Regions from separate parts of the Homo sapiens genome. Here region 2 is linked to region 1. Evidence: promoter capture Hi-C in human tissues and cell types (Jung and others, 2019). All regions are on one chromosome and are shown on one strand. Each heading gives the region's core, a stretch centred on a gene start or on the middle of the fragment in contact. The rest is flanking DNA. Distances are from core to core; before and after follow the strand shown. Region 1 holds the start of AGO4 (argonaute RISC component 4). Region 2 overlaps PSMB2 (proteasome 20S subunit beta 2).

The links. The method cuts DNA at HindIII sites, captures the fragments that hold promoters and counts their contacts. A contact is called where the count stands out against the background at its distance.
Region 2: a contact is called between a fragment that was not itself captured here and the fragment with the promoter of AGO4 in region 1, in 1 of the 25 tissues and cell types used here (hippocampus).

What each region holds. Positions count from the first base shown.
Region 1 is chr1:35,806,698-35,809,558 of GRCh38, forward strand. It overlaps AGO4 (argonaute RISC component 4), which reads left to right and starts at 1,319. Exons shown (of 18, transcript NM_017629.4): 1 at 1,319-1,738. The coding sequence starts at 1,720. It overlaps CLSPN-DT (CLSPN divergent transcript), which reads left to right. Exons shown (of 3, transcript NR_199050.1): 3 at 48-243. RefSeq lists enhancers at 493-992, 2,092-2,371 and silencers at 1,202-1,411, 1,692-1,941. The HindIII fragment of the contact is 21,017 bases long and covers 1-2,861 here.
Region 2 is chr1:35,635,110-35,637,852 of GRCh38, forward strand. PSMB2 (proteasome 20S subunit beta 2) reads right to left here. Exons shown (of 6, transcript NM_002794.5): 2 at 1,201-1,323. Among named protein-coding and RNA genes, the nearest start is that of PSMB2, 5.0 kb to the right of the region's middle. The HindIII fragment of the contact is 7,718 bases long and covers 1-2,743 here.

The DNA.
Region 1 (2,861 bases), core at 69-2,568:
GTAATTAAATTAAAACGAGGTCACTAGAGTGAGCCCTACTCTAATAGGACTGCTGTCCTTATAAGAAGAGGAAATTTGGACACAGACGTGCACAGAGGGAAGACCACGTGAAGTCACTGGGAGAAGGCCACTATCTACCAAGTGAAGGAGATAGGCCTCAGAAGGAACCAACCCTGCCTACATCGTATCTCTGACTGCCAGCCTCCAGAATTGTGAGAAAATAAATTTCTGTTGTTTAAGCCACCCAGTCTGTGGTACTTTGTTACGTTATGCCGTAGCAAAGGAATACAACACACACACACAAACTCATCGTACCTTTTCAATTGGTGGACAAGGGGCTCCTTCCTTCTGCTGACTAGAAACTGCTTCTTGGCCTGTTGTCCAGTGTTCTCCCACTCAAAGTCCTTACTGAAAGCCCTAAAGATGCTGTGCCTGCTGGGCTGACCATGCTGCCTTGGAGGTGGTGCTGCTCCCTTGGCTTTTGTCTGCTAAGGGGAAGGCATCCAAGAAAGCAAGACCTTTCTCTCTCTCTCTCTCTTTTATTTTTATTTTTTTTTTTTCAGACAGTCTTGCTCTGTCGCCCAGGCTGGAGTGCAGTGGCCCGATTTCGGCTCACTGAAACCTCTGCCTCCCGGGTTCAAGCGATTCTCCTGCCTCAGCCTCCCAAGTAGCTGGGATTACAGGCGCCTGCCTCCACGCCCGGCTAATTTTTTGTGTTTTTAGTAGAGATGGGCTTCCGCCATGTTGGCCAGGATGGTCTCAAACTCCTGACCCCAGGTGATCCACCCGCCTCCGCCTCCCAAAGTGCTGGTATTACAGGCGTGAGCCACCACGCCCGGCCAAGACCTTTCTCTTCTAAAGTGACTGGTGATTTGCTGACCAGAGGCGCTTGTCATGGGACCAGGGAGGGAATGCATCATTCATCAGGGTCCATTCCCGTGGTGCCTTCCGGCTATACGGAGAGGGACGCGCAGTTGGGTGTGTGGTGCTGAATGAAGGGATGAAGGAGGACTGCTAGCGTCTAAGGTGACCCTAAAAGACGAGATGACAGAAGCGATCTGGGGTGGGAGGAGGGAGGAGGGAGGCGAGGTGGCTCCTGTGAATCTCAGTACACTTTCCACTCACAGAAGTGGAAAACTGAATCTGTGGGTCAGCGGAACTGGAATCCAGATCTTTTGCAGGACGCCCTGGGGGGATGGCACGTAGCCCCCAGAGCCGTTGGCCACCGGACGGCCTCCTCGGGTGGACGGGGCAGAGCGGGCCAGCGGGCGCGTGCCCGACACGTCCACCGGGCTCTGCACCCTCCGGGCGCGCGCTCGTTCCCCGACCCGCCTCGCCGCCTGCCGGGCTCTGTGGACCCCGCGCCCGGGGCCGCGCACGCCCCCTCCGCCCGCCGGGACCCTGGGTCCGCGCACCCCGCGCCCCCTTCCCTCCCGGCGGGCGCGCGCGCTGGCTCCCGCTCCCGCTCCCGTTGGCGGCGGCGGCGGCGGCGGCGGCGGGGATTGTTTTTGTTGTCGCTGAGGCCGGAAGAGCCGGAGCCGGGTCCCTGTCCCCGGGCCGGGCGCCGCCGCCGCCCCCTGCCCAGCGCCCGCGTCTCCGCGGCGCCACCCCAGCGCCAATATTCCGGAGATCAAGCGTTACGCGGCGGCGGCGGCGGCGGCGGCGGGGCCCGGAGCGGGAGGCGCCGGGGACCGGGGCGAGGCGGCCCCCGCCGCCGCCATGGAGGCGCTGGGACCCGGTGAGGAGCGAGCTCGGGTCGGGGCGGGACCCGGGACCCGGGACCCGGGGCGGGCGGCCGGGACTTTCGCTGCCCCGTCGCCTCGCCGGGTTCGGGCCGCCAGGCCTCGGGGAAGGGGACCCGAGCCCCGCAGCACGAAGCGGAGGGAGCTGACCCGGGCCTGGGGGGCGGTGACCGCGCCCCAGCCGGCCGTTGGGTGGATCCCGAGGTCCAGGGGGGAGGTTCGGGAAGGTGACCGGCGCTGCCGGGCGGAGGCCACTCTTGGCCCCACCTCGGGGAGACGATATGTGCCCGGGGTCGCGACGAGGGTAGTTTGGGCCTCAGAAGGGGGCGATCCGCTACCCAGTGCGCGCGGAGGCCTGGCCCAGACCGGGAAAAGGGCCCCGCTGCCTACTACCAGCCGGTAGTCCTGGTTTGGGGCCGCGCCCCTATTTTTCTTTGCACTGGCAGATGGTCCAGAGCCTTCAGATGAGGAAGAAGAACTTCATCCAAACACCTCTCATGATCTCTGAAGGTCAAGGGACAAAATGCCCACCCTTTCTGAAAGGCCCTGATGTCCCAAAGAACATGGTCCTGTGCCTCTGTCACTCAGTCTGTGTGTTAGTCTCAGAGTGGTCTGAGCCAGCCTTTGAGTGACACAGGAGTTGCCAGTCAGTCTGCTCCACCACAGGCTTCAATGCCCTGAGTTCTCTTCTAATTGGGTTATGAGTGGTTGTGAGGATCAAATGAAGGAGAAAGTGCTTTGGAAACTAATTTGTTGTGGATATGGATGGCCTCTGGTTATTTCTCTCTATCCAAACCAGAAGAACCATTCCAGGCTGTAACAAGTGTCCTGAGTATTGGGGCCTGGTGCTTCCACCTCAAAGCCCAACAGGTTTCTAATGCCTTGGCTAAGTAGCTCAGTGTTTAGGGGCTGTGGTGGAATTCACTTTAATATTCAAACTTTACCTACATAATGAACTTAGTCGTAGAGTGTTTCATCTTTTTAGTGCGTAGAAAATTCGAGTTGCCATTTGAGTTTGGAAACTTGGCACGTTTGTTTACTTAGCACTTGTTTGCATAGCTGAGTGATTAAGCCCCACCCTAATTTGCTTCTTAAAGTATTGTTTAAAGGCCCTCATAA
Region 2 (2,743 bases), core at 168-2,667, 170 kb before region 1:
TTAGCCAGGCGTGGTGGCACATGCCTGTAATCCCAGCTACTTGGGAGGCTGAGGCAGGAGGATTGCTTGAACCTGGAAGGCAGAGGTTGCGGTGAGCCGAGATTGTGCCACTGCACTCCAGCCTGGACAACAAGAGTGAAACTCCATCTCAAAAAAAAAAAAAATTTTTTTTTTTTTTGTAGAGATGAGGTGTCACTACATTGCTCAGGCTAGTCTTAAACTCCTGGTCTCAAGTGATCCTCCCACCTTGTCCTCCCCAATTGCTGGGATTACAGGCATGAGCCATCATACCAGGCCGATGGTGTTAGTTTTATCTATCAGCTATCAGTGTTACAACAGTTCTCTGCTCTAGGATTTTTGTAGAAAATCTTTTATGAAGGATTAGAATCTTTAGGGTCTAGACAACTTCTTAAACACAGAAAACTCTAATGAAAATATGGGCTGGGCGTGGTGGCTCACGCCTGTAATCCCAGCACTTTGGGAGGCCGAGGTGGGCAGATCACAAGGTCAAGAGATGGAGACCATCCTGGTCAACGTGGTGAAACCCTGTCTCTACTAAAAATACAAAAATTAGCTGGACGTGGTGGTGCGTGCCTGTAGTCCCAGCTACTCAGGAGGCTGAGACAGGAGAATCGCTTGAACCTGGGAGGCGGAGGTTGCAGTAAGCAGAGATCGCGCCATTGCACTCCAGCCTGGGCAACAGAGCGAGACTCCGTCTCAAAAAAAAAAAAAAAAAAAAAAAAGAAAATATGACCACATAAGTCTTAAAGAATATTATTTTTCAGTTCAAATTTAAAGACAAACCAATTGTTATAGGCTGAATTTTGTCCACCAAAAATTCATATGTTGAAGTCTTAATCCCTAGTACTTTAGTATGTGACTGTATTTGGAGAAGGGATCCTTAAGAGGTTATTAAATTAAAATGAGTTCCTAATTCAACATGACTGGTATTCTTAGAAGAGAAAATTTGGATATAGTACAAAGAGAAAAATCACGTGAAGACACAGGGAGAAGATGGCTATCTGCAAGCCAAGGAGAGAGGCCTCAGAAATCAACGCTGCCAACACCTTAATCTTTGACTTCTAACATCTAGAACTGTGAGAAAATACATTTCTGTTGTTTAAGCCACCCAGTCTGTGACTTTAGTAATGGCAGCCCTAGTAAACTCATATGCCAACTAAAACTGTAAGTCTTACCCACCATTTCGCATCTTATAAAGTTGCACGTTTTTCTGAATATATTCTGCAAACTGTACAGTGTCTCCAGCCTCTCCAACACACAGGAGTAATATCTTTTCACTCATCTTAAACATCTTGTCATGATCTGCTCAAAGAAGAAAACTGTGTTAGAAACTGCCTTAACAGACATTGACCGTCATTATTTATGTAACCATAAACAGGTTTATTAATTACTACAGTTGGCCTTCCATATACATGGATTCTGAATCCACAATTCAACAAACTATGGATCAAAATTATTCAGAAAAAAAAAAAAATGGATGCTTGCATCTATCCTGAACATGTACTGACTTTTTTTCTGGTCATTATTCCCTAAACAATATGGTATAACAACTATTTACATAGCACTTATGTCATATTAAGTATTATAAATAATCTAGAGATGATTTGAAGTACACAGGAGTACCTGCATAGGTAATATGCAAATACTATACCATGTATATAATGGACTTTAAGCATCTATGGATTTGGGTATCTGCAGGGGTTCTGGAACCAATCCCTACAGATACCAAGGGACGACTGTATATTGAATAATTTAACTAATTATTGCTTTTAGAAGATTTTAATAGGTAATGGTATCAATTTTTCTCTTTCACTCTTCATGTTAAACCATCAGCATATTGTGTAATGCCAATTTCGGTTGGAGAATATACATGAAAGCTACCAATTGAAAATACAATTTAAAGCATTTAAAGGCATTTGAAATGCAAGGAACAGAACGACAGAAGAAACTGAAGGAATCCAGCCAATGGCGATTATCTTTAGGCTCATGATAACAAAGCCCTAAAATGTTTCCACAACTACAAATGTTAGTTATTATATTTATACACATACAAAAGCATATATGAAAAGGACTGGTGCTATAATTAAAATTAAGGAACCATTTCAAGAAAGAATAGAAAATCAACTGAGAATATTAATCACTTTAAAAAGTAAACAAATTCCACTTCCAAAGAAAAAGAGAAAATTAAAATGATTGCCAAAGCAAAAATTCTAGTGAATATTTTGACAGTAAGCTATTTAAAATACCTCACAAAAATCCTAATACTCTAATCTTATCTAGCTGAACCAGAGTCATTCAGATTAGACAGATAAATAAATATTCAGGTTACAGTTATTGCCTAAGGAAGAAAACTCCACATTCAGTCTGCAGCTTCAGAAAAGGCCTAAATCTTCCTATCTCACTTTCACTTTCACTTTTCATTTTTCAAATAGTGCTGAATAATCCTCCCTGGGAGACACGTTTCCTGTTTGAAAGCTTCTGAAATGCCAAAATCCTTTAATAGGATTTAAAGAACAAAATGCTACTGTCAAATACTTTACAAGTGTTTCAGAGTTGTAGATACCAGTAATATGGCTTCTTAGACTTGGAGGGAAAAAACACACAAAATGCACCTGTAGATAATATCAAATTGCCTCAAAACTCCTAAACAAACACACTTTTATTTGTTATGCAGGCTAGATTTAAAGATTGTTAGTTTGCAAACTTGTTAATAAACGAAAAA